5 separate regions of the Homo sapiens genome follow, and regions 1, 3, 4 and 5 are each linked to region 2. Evidence: promoter capture Hi-C in human tissues and cell types (Jung and others, 2019). All regions are on one chromosome and are shown on one strand. Each heading gives the region's core, a stretch centred on a gene start or on the middle of the fragment in contact. The rest is flanking DNA. Distances are from core to core; before and after follow the strand shown.

Region 1 (2,700 bases), core at 19-2,518, 160 kb before region 2:
TTTTCTATTGAGAGTCATTGGTCTTTTTCTTATTGATTCAAAGCCATTCTTTATATAATCTGAATATTAACCCTTTGTTGTTTATATGTCTAACAAATATCTTTTCCCAGTTTGTGGCTTGTGGTTTCATTTTCTTTGTAGTGTCTTTCAATCAACATTAACTTAAAGATTGTCACATTTAACAATCTTTTCCTTTATTGTTTTTACATTTTATGTCTTGGGAATTTCTTTCTATGAAATAAAAATACTCTCCCTCCTTTAGAGTTTTCTTAGTCCATTGATGCTGCTATAACAAAACACCTTAGGCTGGGTAATTTAAAACAACAGGTAGTTATTTCTGACAATTCTAGAGGCTGGGAAGTCCAAGATCAAGGCACGGGCAACTTCATTGTCTGGTGAGGGCTGCTCCATCTGCTTCTACGATGGTATCTTCTTGCTGCATCCTCACTTGGCAGAAGAGGCAAAGGAATGGACGGGACAAACTTGTCCTCTCAGCCCTTTTACGGTGGCACTAATCCTGTCTATGAGGGTGGAGCATGCATGACCTAATCACCTCCTAGTGGCCCCACCTTTTAATATTGTTGAACTGGGAATTAAGTTTCCACATGAATTTCGGAGGAACACAAACATTCAAACCATAGCAAAAGTTTTCTGTATTCTGTTTTTATTTTTTAAATTTAGGTCTCAAATCCAACTGGATTTGTTTTTGTATTTGGTGTAACACAGGGAGTCCCGTTTCATCTTTTCCATAGAGAAAACCAATTGATCCCGGACCATTTATTAAAAAGTTATTTTTTTTCCCCACATTGATCTTTTACCACCTTTGATATTTAGCAGATGTCCATATATACATGTCTGGGCTCTTTGTTCTCTTCCATTCATCTGTCTATCCTCATACCAGTACTACACTGTCTTAATTACTGTGTCTTTACAAGTCTTGATATCTGATAGGACCAGTCTTCCCACCTTTTGCTTGGTTATTCATGACCCATTGTTCTTCTGTATACTGTTCACATAGTTGTATATTCCACTTGAAAGCTTCCACCAAAAAATTATGTATTTTGAGAGGAATTACACATCTATTTTAGGATAATTTACATCTTTAGTATATTGAAGCCTCCAATTCAAAAGCCTGGCATATCTTTCCATTTGTTTGGATCTTTTAAAATGTTTTAAATAAAGTTTTAGTTTTTCCCTAAAGACCTTATACATTTATTAGATTTATTCTTTAGATACTCTGTATTTTTGAGATTATTATAAATTCTATCTTTTAAATATCATTGTCTTACTATTTGTTACTTTGGATAGAAAGGCAATTGATTTTTACATATTGATTTATATACAGCCAACTTGCTATATCCTCTAACTTTAATGATTTATATGTTGATTATTTTGGATTTTCTATGTAGTCAATCATATCATTTCCCAATAAGAGCAAAACAATTTTATTTCTTAATTTTATATTTCATTTTCCTTTTTCTTGCCTTACCCTACTGTGAGCTCTTCTAATATAGAATTAAGGGTGTTCTTGTTTCTGATCTTAAAAAGAACACTTTCAATATTTCTTCACTAATATTTCTACATTTCCTGAGATGATTGTATAGTTTTTCATTTATCTGTTATTGTGGTAAATTATATTCATTAATTACTAATATGAAGGCACTCCTGCATCCCTAGGATGAAACTTAGTCATGATGGATGATTATTTTTATTCATTTCTGAATTTTGTTTGATAATGTTTTGTTAAGATTTTTGTATTTTTGTTTGTGAATGAGATTGGCCTGTAATTTTCCTTTTGTACTGTCCTTGTCAGGTTTTAATATCAAAATTATGTAAGCCTCCTTGACAAAGAAAAGTTGGGGGTCAGGGTAGTCCCTCTTTTTTTCATATAGTGGAATAGTTTGTGTAAGGAAGAATATAGGAATATTCAGGTTTTTATTTATTTTTGTTTCAATTTCGGTAAGTTAAAATTCTATAGAAAATGTTTCATTCCATCTAAATTTTTAAATATTTAGCATGATTTTTAATGGTATTTTATTATCTTTTAAATTTCTAGGGCATCTCAATTATGACCCCAAATTTTTTTTTTGTACATTTTTTTCTTTGAAAAATCTTGCCATAAAGTTGTTAGAGTTTACAATCATCTGGAAGAAACTTTGTTTAGCTTTTTAAATCTACACTCTTATATGTTTATATTCTATTTCATTATTTCTGGTCTTATGATTTTCTTTCTTCTAGTTCTTTGGATTTATTTTACTGATCTTTTTCTGATTTCTTAAATTATTTACTTATTATATTTCAATTTTTCTTTTTTTAAACATTGTTAAAATTTCATGCTAAGTAATGCTTATGCATTGTGTGACATTTTTATTAATACTTAATTACAAATATTTTGTCATTTTACATTTGAATTTCCTCTTGCCCCATGAATTATTTGTGGGTTTCTTAATTTACAAAGATATAGGGATTTTCTGGTTATCTTTTTGTTCCTGGCTTCCAACACAATTACACTGAAGTCAGAAAATGTTTTATGTATGATATCAATTTGTCAAAATCTTTGAGACTGGTTTTTGGTCCAATATATTGTCAGTCTTTATAAATGCTCCATAGTTGGCCAAAAACAATTAACACTGGTGTTTCAAGCTACTAGGCATAGTGCTCCATATATGTCTATTATATGAAGCTTGCTGATTGTGCCAG
Region 2 (2,700 bases), core at 149-2,648:
TCAAAAAACAATGAGGCCTGGTGTGGTGGCTCACGCCTGTAATCCCAGCAGTTTGGGAGGCCGAAGAGGGTGGATCACCTGAGGTCAGGATTTCGAGACCAGTCTGGCCAATATGGCGGAAACCCCGTCTCTACTGAAAATACAAAAATCAGCCGGGTGTGGTGGTGGGCGCCTGTAGTCTCAGCTACTCGGAGGCTGAGGCAGTAGAATCACTTGAACCCAGGAGAAGGAGGTTGCAGTGAGCCAGATCATGCCACTGCACTCCAGCCTGGGTGGCAGAGTGACCTGTTTAAAAAAAGAAGAAAAAAAAGAGAAAGTTATTAATTCACTATATTTTTAGAAGATGGTGGGTTATATGCTACCTATATCTCATACAAATAAAGCTGCTTTTCACCATTCAGGTCTGCCTGTAAGCAGCATCTGCCTTGAAAGAACCATTTTCTGAGAATCTTTTTCTTCTGTCAGCCAAGGGGATTATACCGCATGATATCTGTCAAGGATAAACGTTAGTTAATTCTTAATTGAGAGCTCAGCCACTACAATTGGTTCCATTCTACAGTAATTATTCTCATGTGGTTTGTGGAACTCAATTGTGAGGTCCCTCCTTCCTCCACCCTTTTCAGTGTGTGCATTGAAACAGCAGCCTTAAGGTCTTTAAACGGGGAAATACATTTTTCTTGCTTCAGAGATTCAATTTTACTTGCCCGAGAAGCTTGTGTGGTGTGATTTTCATCGCTAAAAGCAACAGCAGCCACATGGCTGACAACACCACCACTTAACAATTCAAAGCTCGGTCACCGTTTTCAGGAGTCTCTTCCAAATCTTTCTGAAGTGCTTTTGAAGTTCTACATTCCCCGTCTAAGGGAACACCCAGCAGTCCCAGGATAAAAGGGCAGAAGGGTGAGCTGACGTTTTCCTTTATTTGCATGGCTTAAAGCTAGCCATTTTCTACACCACGCGCCGCCGGGCTTGTACATGCCCGTGTGCCTGTGACACCGAGGCAATTGTTTCTCCTTAAAAAGGGGGTTCGCGTGGGTTAGTTTCGTTTCTGATCTGGAATCTCAGTAACTACAACAAGAAAAGTTTAAAACTCGACCCGCCAGGTTCTTCCCCATCGGATTATCTCCGTTCCTTAGAGATAGCAGGAAGGGCAGCATTTTCTTCCATCCACCCACTTCCAGCCCTAGTCTGGCTCAGCGAGGAATGCATAAAATTAGTGGACTCCTCTGAGTGACGTTCCCCGGCTCCAATCAGCGGGCGCGCAGGCGCCCCCGGCCCCGCCCCACTGCTGACTCTCTTTGGCTGATTCCTGCAGGGAGGGAGGAGAGAAGGGCGGCAGTGGGAGGGGGAGGTACCTGGAACTGGGAGTGATGTCAGCTCCCAGCTCGGTGCCTGCCCGGATTCCTGACATGGTGTAGTGCAGGCAGGGTGGGGAAAGGACGGGGAAGGACTCGTGTGCTGCGAGCTGGCGGCCGGGCCGGAGTGCTGGGGCTTTGAACTCCGAGAGGAGGTGGACCAGAACTTTTGGAACTAGTGCCGGCGGCTCTCCACCCCCCAGGTAAGGGCGTTTTGCTCCACTCCCAGACGGGAGGGAAGTGGCACCGTTGTGTGGCTGCAGCTGGCTGTTGCAGCTGCTCCTCCTCTTCCCCGGGTCGATTTCCTTGTGCAACTCACTCCTGTTTCCCAATGGGAACGGGCACTTTTTGGGGGTGGTGGGGGTGGAGGGGTAGGGCTTAACTCCTGGGGCTTGGACCGAGCTTGTACGTGAAGAATACTCCAGGATTGGACGTTTAGGTCTTGTCTGTATCCTTAGACCCCCACACCCTAGGCTCCCGGTAATACCTGAGAACCCCAACCAGAGGGGCGTGTGTGTCTCTCTGTCTGTGTGTATTGAGGCATTTAAAAATGCCACAAAAAATTATGGATCATCGACTCAAAAATTATGCTCGTTGAAAAGAAAAAAAAAGTTTTGTATTTTTTTGTCTCCTTGTGGCCTATTATATATTAAAAGAATATCAATGTTAGTCTTATATATCAATGTAAAATATCCTTTTGTGTAATCCAGTCAGGATGTGAGAAATTCACTTGGGGTGTTTATTAATTATGAGCTTGCGGGAAAACTCGTCTCTTGGGGGCACACTTCTAAAACTGCAACTAGTATTCACTCATTTTAACCGAGAAATCCCTTCAGCTGCCAGCTTTATATCTGGAGAGGTTAGGATGGCTGCTGAGAATCTTCAGATCTGTTTCCTGTGGCTGCTTGAGGGGCGAGCTGGTAGTTGTGTTTTCAGGGATCTTTTTTAGAGAAGGGAGTTTTAACAGGGAAACGCGGTGGAAGGCGTGGCATATAAACTCTTAATTATAGGGACGTGAAGTTTTCAACATGTGGGACCAAAACAAATCCTTGCTTTCAGTAAGAACTGCGGAGAGCAATAGAAAAAGAACTTGATTTCAAAGTCCAAGTTTGGTATTTTGAGAAAGCAATTGCGGGAGGAAAAAGATACTTTTAAGAAGTGAAAGAATAGAATTCTGATTTTTGTTTATTTCCTATTTCAAACCCTGTCTTTTTCCTATGTGGAGATTTTGTGTGCCCAGGTCACTAACTGGGTGTGATTGACTTTCTCGAGGGGGCGGGGAAATTGACTCCATACACCGATTCAGGACCCTCTCATCAGTGCTTTAAGGCTCTCTTTTGGAGCA
Region 3 (2,700 bases), core at 125-2,624, 190 kb before region 2:
TGTGAGTTAAAATTGGCCAAACTGAAAGGAAGTGAAAATGCACCTACTAATTCAAAGAAAATGCACCTACTAATTCCCCAGATAAGTCTTACGAACTTACAACAAGCTTTTAGATAAAGTTTAATGCTATTTATCTAACTATTTTAGATTAATAGTTTATTGCTCTTTGCATACCAAATGTAAAGCTGGGAATAATAAAAATTAAATTTTCTTAATTAAGGGTAGCAATGTTTCTGTGCGGGCTGGGAGAGCCCGCAGGTATGAGTACCTAAGATGTCACAGACATTTCACAGGGGTGCTTCTGTTAGTCTTACAACAGCGTTGTGAGGTAGGTAGTATCTCCATTTCACAGATGAGAAAACTGAGGCTGGCTCACAGTTATACAGCCAGGACATGACAGAACTAGAGTTAAAATCCATGGCTGTCGCCCATACTCCTTTCTTTTCTTTCCCATCTGACTTGGTGGTGCTAATGAGCAAGTGTGCTCACTTCCAGACACCTGCTTATCTAAAGAGTAGTAAAAAATAGAACGCTCAACGAAACCTCTAGGAGGAAAAAATGTATATGTATTTTTACTATTTCTCCCTATTCCCAGAGGGAAAACAAAAACAGGCCTCTGGGCCAGTTGGTGGCCATCTACAAAACTAGCCCTAAGGTTTTGTTTTGCTTTGTTTTGTTTTGTTTTGTTTTGTGTTTTTTTAACAGTGTAAACCAAACTATGGGTTTCCCCACCCCATCAGTTTTAGATGGTAAACACCGAAATTGAGCATGCTGCCAAGTGACTGGGTGTCCTCCTAATAAATGATTCCAGAATCCTTGGGGTAGGAAGAGGGCAGTCTTGGGGAGCAGCACATTTCCAAGACTCACTGCCAGAGATGGTCTGGGGTTGAGGCCTCTGTGGGGCAGCTTTCTCACCTTCCGTTTTCTTACCAGCTCATGTTTTCACCTATGATAGTGTAAGATCCAATTCTTTTACATGTAGTTCTGCAATTACAGTGGTTTAAATTTACTTTGTGAGTCAGAAATCAAACGTCATGTCCCAATCAATTTTGCCTAAGCTCCTGTTACTGGCATGGATCCTTGGGCAAAATTTCAGCCAGAAATGCATTATTCAAGATAAACCAGGATGGGCTAATTACTTTTCACATATTTAAGGGGGAGGAAAATAGAGAAGGAAAGAGAGAAAGAGTGAGAGGAGGGAGAAGGCAAGAGAGGAGGTGTGAAGTAAAGAGAGGAGGAGAGGGGAAAGGAGGAGGAAGGAGAGAGTGAAGGAAGGAGAAGGGGAGGAGGGGAGGGACTGCCACTCCATCAAAGTTTGACTCCAGGAAAAACAAAAACTAACGTTTAAAATATATAGGGAAAGCCAAAATATCAGTAGGAGAATACAGTGATTTCAGTTTACTTTGTCCTTGTGAAATGACTCCCTAGTTCTAAAAAGCATGATGTTCTGTGCTGTGAACATTGAGGTAGCATCCTTTTGAAATCTCCATTTGTGTCATGTTCAGGAAATCATAAATGAGCAAATAACAATTCATTCTGGTAGCCCTAGTTTTCAGTTGTCTCATTTAATTGAAGACCTCCACTTCTCTGCATTGACAACTGAGTTACTCGGGTGCTTGGGGTCTGGGTCATTAGTCAGCATCATCATGGTCATAAGCATTTTCAGGGACCTCAGAGTGTGCCATGTGCCCTACAGGAGGCAAGGGCACCTGAGACATCCGCCTGTTCTGTGAGACAGTGATTTCCTGCCCTGGTTTTTGCAAGGTTACTACCTGTAGTGGCTCCCCTGGTTCTCAGCATCCCAGCCCTCTGTAGCCCCTGCCTTGCCCAGTGCCTCACCCCTTCCCAGTGGCAGGAGCCAGTGGGAACTAAGAGCCTTCAGTGTAAGCCCTTATTGGAGCTAGGACTGCAGGTGAGATATGTTCTCTGTAGTAGCGTGTAGTATTTCTAGATATTTACTGATAATTTATGCAATACTTAGCTATGTATGCCCTGCCGCACCCTGTTTCCTTCTCTTACTCAGGTGCTGTCACACTTACTGGTCCCTGACACATACTGTTTACATTGTATCACACTAGGCTATAATATCCCATTTACCCACCCAATTTTTTAACTTAAAATATTTTTAAACCTGGCTGGGCGCGGTGGCTCACGCCTGTAATCCCAGCACTTTGGGAGGCTATGGCAGGTGGATCACCTGAGGTCAGGAGTTTGAAACCAGCCTGGCCAACATGGTGAAACCCTGTCTCTACTAAAAAATACAAAAATTAGTCCGGCGTTGGTGGTGCGTGCCTGTAATCCCAGCTCAGGAGGCTGAGGTGGGAGAATCACTTGAACCTGGGAGGCAGAGGTTGTAGTGAGTCGAGATCATTCCACTGCACTCCAGCCTGGGTGACAGAGCGAGACTGTCTCAAAAAAAAAAAAAAAAAAAAAAAGTATTTTAAACTTCCTTAAAACTTCTTAAAATCAGTTCAGTTATACAGTGTTAACATTCTCACCTGAAAATACTTAAATGGTTGGCATGATAGGAAATTTGACATTTATGTAGCTAAATTATTTGTATTTCATTTCTCTAGTCTTTAATCTTATGGTTTAAATCTCTAGATGGTACCATTACAGCGAGATTAAAAACAAAGAAGTCTAAAGGAAAAGGAAATGTAAAGAGAATCATTCTTCCACTCTATGCTTTGCATTAAAGGA
Region 4 (2,700 bases), core at 152-2,651, 140 kb before region 2:
ATGTGTCTTTCAGCTTTAGAGGTATTCACTGGCATTTGTCTATAGTCTGTATGTGGAGAGAATACTGAATTGGATGTCAGAAAACTTGGTTCTGATAAAAGCTTTTTCTCAAGCTCACTATACAACCTTGAAAGGTATTTACATTTCTTCTTCACATATATTATGAAGAGAATATCACCTGCCTTTCATACCTCTCAATTCTTTAGAAGTTCTGAAGTTGAGCTGGGCGTGGTGGCTCATGCTTGTAATCCCCGTACTTTGGGAGGCTGAGGTGGGCGGATGGCTTGAGTCCAGATTTCGAAACAAGCCTGGGCAAAAAAATGCAAAAATTAGCCAAGTGTGGTCTTGCGTGCTTGTAGTCCCAGCTACCTGGGAGGCTGAGGTGGGAGGATCGCTTGAGCCTGGGAGGTGGAGGTTGCAGTGAGCAGTAATCATGCCACTGCACTCCAGCCTGGGTGACAGCCTGTCTCAGAAAAAAAAAAAAGTTCTGAAGTATAGTATTAATTATTAAGTTATTGAGAGATTTCTATCCTTCAAAAAGAAAACTTCCTTAAACTCTGCAGTTTCTCTTAAAGCTTCATTCAGATTTACGAGTAGTACCTTATAATGCATCACATGTTGCCATTCAGAGTATCCTCAAATATGTGAGACACTGGGGGAAGGAGGTCCTTGCCACTGCCTCTTGGTGTGTGGGTGATCATTTCTGGCTTTAGCAATTCCCCAACTTGAGCTTGAATTTTAAATCAAAGTGTAATAAATGTATATGTGTACCTGTGTATTAGTCCATTCTTGCATTGCTATGAAGGAATACCTGAGACTGGGTAATTTATAATGAAAAGAAGTTTAATTGGCTCCCGGTTCCACAGGCTGTGCAGGAAGCATGGTGGCTTCTGCTTCTGGGGAGGCCTCAGGGAGCTTTCACTCATGGCAGAAGGCAAAGTGGGAGCCGGCATCTTACATGGCAGGAGCAGGACCAAGAGAGGGTAGGGGAGGTGCCACACACTTTCAACAACCAGATCTCATGAGAACTCACTATTGTGACACAGTATCAAGGGGAAAATCCACAAGCATGATCCAGTCACCTCCCACCAGGCCCCACCTCCAGCACTGGGGATTATTATTCGACATGAGATTTGGGCGGGGACACAGAGCCAAACCATGTCAACATGTGCGGTAGAAATCACCCCTGTTTTGGGAATAGCCCCAGTCCAACTTGGGTGAAGTGGAATAGAGTTTTCGATTTACCAATGCCGATGATGTAAATTTGCACTGAAAAGATAAGACCTGGCCAAGCAGCAAGCTGAAGACTCCAGAGGAGACTCTGCAAGTTCAGATTTGTAAAGATCTAGAAGATTATAGTGAAATTTGGCTCAAAAATCATAAAAAGGGAGTGAGCAAAGGATGACCAAGGGTCTTAGTTTAGATCTCAAACACTGCCAGGAAAAGGAAAATATATTTCAGGGTAATGGAAATTATCTGGGCACCATGCAAGGTATGGTCAAGTCAAGTTAAGGTGGCTAAGAGGAGAGCAGCACTCACCTAGACTCCTGGTGCTTCCTGTTGGGAGCATGATGGGAGATCTTATTTTCATAACAGTCTGTTGTGAAATAAGCTTCTCTTTTACCCACAGCTGAGGCTTGCAATATTTTCCTTAAATCCTTCAGCAATGAAAATTTACAGGCTCAACTGAGGTCATTTGATTGCAACCCTGAAATTAGCTGAGTATTTTCACATTAGCAGTGTCCTAAGGGAGGAAGACCTAAGGGAAAAGCCATGAATCAGTCGACTAGTTCAACAAAACATGATCTGAGCATCAACCGCATTCCTGTTCTGTGCTGAGAATATAAAAATTAATGAGGCAAGATCTCTGCCCTTTAAGGGTTTGTGGTCTGACTAGGAAGACTGACTTAGGAAGAGATCGTCAGAGTCTGGTGCGATGAATGTTACAGCAGTGGTTCGAGTGAGAGGGGAGGCTGTGAAAGCTCAGCAGGGAGGAGGTGAGTCCAGAGGAGATTCCTTGGAACAGGGCGTAGATTTTGCCTCAGCTCTGCTGAACAGAAGTGACATGGTTAAGTACTCATCCCCGCAGTCTGACCAGATCCTTCGGTCAGTGCTGCTCACAAGCAAGATGATTTAAGGCAACTGGATCTGCATTCCAGGGTATTGTCACAGCATCCCCACACTTGCTCGGCAAAAACTTAGAAGCCAGATCAACAGAGGGCTGCCTGTGGATCATGTTATTTTGGTCCATAGCATAATTAGGTTAAAGGCAGAAGGATGGTGATGTGATTTTTTTCACTATACTCTACAGCAGTGCTTTTTAAACGATCTGGATGAAGAACAGGTGTTCCCCCCATCCACCACTAGTTCATTGTAAAATACAGTTAATTATGGAAAAATGATCATGGGTTTGGCTGTCACAGCAATGTTATGTTTTTATAAAAGCCTCTAAATACTTCTTAAATTCTGCACTTGATCTCACCACAGTTTGCTGATGACATTGGTCTGCAGACCACATTTAGAGTAGCCCTGCTCTGCAGCATGAGGTCCTGTGTCTGCAATCTGATTACCAGGCGGGGCAGTGAAGCACAGTGGTTCACACGCATGCGTCCTGAAGGCAGACCTTGTGGTTCAAATCCTGGCTTCCTCCCTTTATAGCTATGTGACTTACTCAAGTTATTTGACATTCTAATCCTCAGT
Region 5 (2,700 bases), core at 199-2,698, 220 kb before region 2:
ATAATAGCGATAATATCTTACACATTAAAAAATAGAACGATAATATTTTCCAACAGCAGAATATAATTCAGGAAAGAAGTAATTAGAATTAAGGTGTTCTTAATGATCTTAGTAGAAAGGGCATAGAGATTAGCTTCAGAGTTTGACAAATTATGTTGTAAGTTCTAGAGTAACCATAAAATGATAAAAATAGAGTTTGTAATTTCCAGACTAGTAGAAGGAAAAAATTGGAATGAGAAAAAAAAAGTCAGTTCAAAAAGAATGCAAGAGAGAAAGAAAAACTGAAATACCAAAAATGGTAAAAATGAAATACCAAAATAGCACAAAATAAGTTAGAAATAAAAATCTAAATATATCAATAATTAAATGAATTACAAGGGTAATTAAAGTCTCTGGAAGTGATCAGACCATCCTGGGAGAGTGAATAAAGTAGAAGAGAACCAAGGAAGAAAAAGCAGGCACTTAAAAAAATTCATCAGAATTTCGAAGGTTCATTGTCTTTACTTGCTGCAGTGTTAAAGTAATTCAGTTTGCTTTCTTTTTCCAAATAAAGGAAAGTAACAATAAAATTATCTGTGTTATTGAAAAAAAAAGTAGTCTCAGCTTGGTGCCACTGTATGTCAAGTCGAACAATCTGCTCATATTTTCTAAAAGCTTATACTTTTAAGAAAATGTGATGTATTTTTAAGGCTTAACTAATTGGATAAATGCATAAGCCCAATAAATTTCTAATCAGAGCAAAGCATAAGAGCATTTTAGGTGGAAAACTATTTTTAAAAAAGGTACAACAGAAATCATGGATCTTCCTGTTTAGATATGGTAGAAATGGATAAAAGTTACTGTATCTCTTCCAGAATGAGGAATGATTTCATGAAGTGTTAGTCTTGGCAATAACTGAGGAAAGGGACAGTGGAAATTTGACAGAAGAATAAAGTTGTTTATATGTTATAGCTCCTCCCAGAATAATGGTCCTCTTACTCTCTGGATTCTTTCTGCAGAGGAGAAAACTGGAAATCATTCAACAAGCAGCACTGAAGTGCCTAGGGGTAGGTGATGGCAGCACAGAATCTGATGTTAGGAGATTATTCTTGTCTAAGGGTTGGGGCCTAGGGGAAATAATGCATAAACAAAAGACAAAAATCAGTGTAATAAGCACCAAGGTAGGTGCCTATGACAAGCACTGAGGAAACATGTGTTGGAGAATATGCTCTTAGGCCTCATCCTCTCCAGTGGGGTGCTGATGTATCAACAGGCTTTAAATGTTACAAATCTTCTATAAGAAGGAAAACTAAGTGATCTTAATGATGGTTTAGTAAAAAAGCTTACCTTTGGACATGTAGCCATGAATAAGAAATATCAAAAAGTTGTGGGAGGGTTTCAATCCTTAACCCTTATACCCATTCAGTTAAATCCTGAAAAGTTACTGTTATTCTGACACACTCCAGAACTAATTAGGAGGAGTTCTGCTAGGTTTATATTTAGGGAAAACCAATACAATAGAAATAAAATACTAATACTCACTTGGAAATGAGTTGCAAAATGTGTTCCACAACCATCTCTCTAGTTTTAGTTACTTCATCCACACTGCCCTTACCCCAGATGCTCAGCTTAACTAACTTCAAGGGTGCTGTTTAAAAAAAATGAATAACTGAACCTGGCTGTACCTAGAAAAGCAAATGTTCTGGTAGCTAGTGGGTTTTTAAAAAATATTTATTTATTTAGAGACAGAGTCTCACTCTGTCGCCCATGCTGGAGTGCAGTGGCACGATCTTGGCTCACTGCAACCTCCGCCTCCCAGGTTCAAGCAATTCTCCTGCCTCAGCCTCCCAAGTAACTGGGACTACAGGCGCCAGCCACCATGCTCGGCTAATTTTTTTTGTATTTTTAGTAGACACGGGGTTTCACAGTGTTAGCCAAGATGGTCTCGATCTCCTGACCTCGTGATCCGCCCACCTCGGCCTCCCAAAGTGCTAGGATTACAGGCGTGAGCCACCGCACCCGGCCGCTGGTGGGTTTTTAAAAACACACATATATGACTTTCCAATTTTCAAATAATTTTAATACAATAAAATAAATGCAATTGCATTGAACATTTTTCCTTCATAAGTTAAGGAAAACTGAGCTTAGAGTTTCAGTGAGGGACTTAGCCAAGCTCATTTAGCTAATAAGTGTTAGAACCAGGGATATTTACCTTAAAATTTTATACTTTTAGTCAGTATAGTTATCTTTTTATATTTCTAATATAAGCATTGGGAAATATTAATGATATTGGTAGATTGAACATTAAGTAGCAGAGTTTTCCATATTAGAACATCAGTCATTGCCAACATTTCATTTAGGCAGGAGCGTGAAGTAAGCCTTAGAAGTAAATTATTCATTTGGCCAGTATGAGAAAGCAAAATCTGGGTTTGTTTTTTGAGAAAGAAAACTATTCTTAGTGATTATGTTGATCCAACTTGAAAGTTTTTTTTTTTTTAGCCTAGCAAGCTGAAGTGGTTAACCTGAATAAATAAATGTATATTTCTTAAGTGGAAATAGTTAGGAATGTATTTAAAATTTAATTTTTTTTTCCTTTGAAAAGGCAGAAGAAATTAGAAGTGGCCATGGAAGAAGAAGGATTAGCAGATGAAGAGGTAATGTAATTACCTATAATTACTGTACAAAAGCACCCCCAGTGACTTTTCATTCATTTGACATCAG

What was found. Contacts are between HindIII fragments. The study calls those that stand out against the background at their distance.
Region 1: a contact is called between a fragment that was not itself captured here and the fragment with the promoter of PPFIBP1 in region 2, in 1 of the 25 tissues and cell types used here (mesenchymal stem cells).
Region 3: a contact is called between a fragment that was not itself captured here and the fragment with the promoter of PPFIBP1 in region 2, in 2 of the 25 tissues and cell types used here (adrenal gland and aorta).
Region 4: a contact is called between a fragment that was not itself captured here and the fragment with the promoter of PPFIBP1 in region 2, in 4 of the 25 tissues and cell types used here (H1 embryonic stem cells, IMR-90 fibroblasts, aorta and 1 more).
Region 5: a fragment that was not itself captured here is called in contact with the fragment with the promoter of PPFIBP1 in region 2 in 2 of the 25 tissues and cell types used here (aorta and psoas muscle).

Annotation. Positions count from the first base shown.
Region 1 is chr12:27,363,643-27,366,342 of GRCh38, forward strand. The region is part of intron 1 of BMAL2 (basic helix-loop-helix ARNT like 2); the gene reads left to right. Among named protein-coding and RNA genes, the nearest start is that of BMAL2, 32 kb to the left of the region's middle. The HindIII fragment of the contact is 3,246 bases long and covers 1-2,700 here.
Region 2 is chr12:27,522,808-27,525,507 of GRCh38, forward strand. PPFIBP1 (PPFIB scaffold protein 1) reads left to right here and starts at 1,399. Exons shown (of 30, transcript NM_003622.4): 1 at 1,399-1,558. RefSeq lists enhancers at 216-817, 715-1,174, 1,421-2,021. The HindIII fragment of the contact is 12,160 bases long and covers 1-2,700 here.
Region 3 is chr12:27,334,536-27,337,235 of GRCh38, forward strand. The region is part of intron 1 of BMAL2 (basic helix-loop-helix ARNT like 2); the gene reads left to right. Among named protein-coding and RNA genes, the nearest start is that of BMAL2, 3.0 kb to the left of the region's middle. The HindIII fragment of the contact is 3,428 bases long and covers 1-2,700 here.
Region 4 is chr12:27,380,508-27,383,207 of GRCh38, forward strand. The region is part of intron 5 of BMAL2 (basic helix-loop-helix ARNT like 2); the gene reads left to right. Among named protein-coding and RNA genes, the nearest start is that of BMAL2, 49 kb to the left of the region's middle. The HindIII fragment of the contact is 4,087 bases long and covers 1-2,700 here.
Region 5 is chr12:27,299,556-27,302,255 of GRCh38, forward strand. It overlaps STK38L (serine/threonine kinase 38 like), which reads left to right. Exons shown (of 14, transcript NM_015000.4): 3 at 2,582-2,633. Among named protein-coding and RNA genes, the nearest start is that of BMAL2, 32 kb to the right of the region's middle. The HindIII fragment of the contact is 6,379 bases long and covers 1-2,700 here.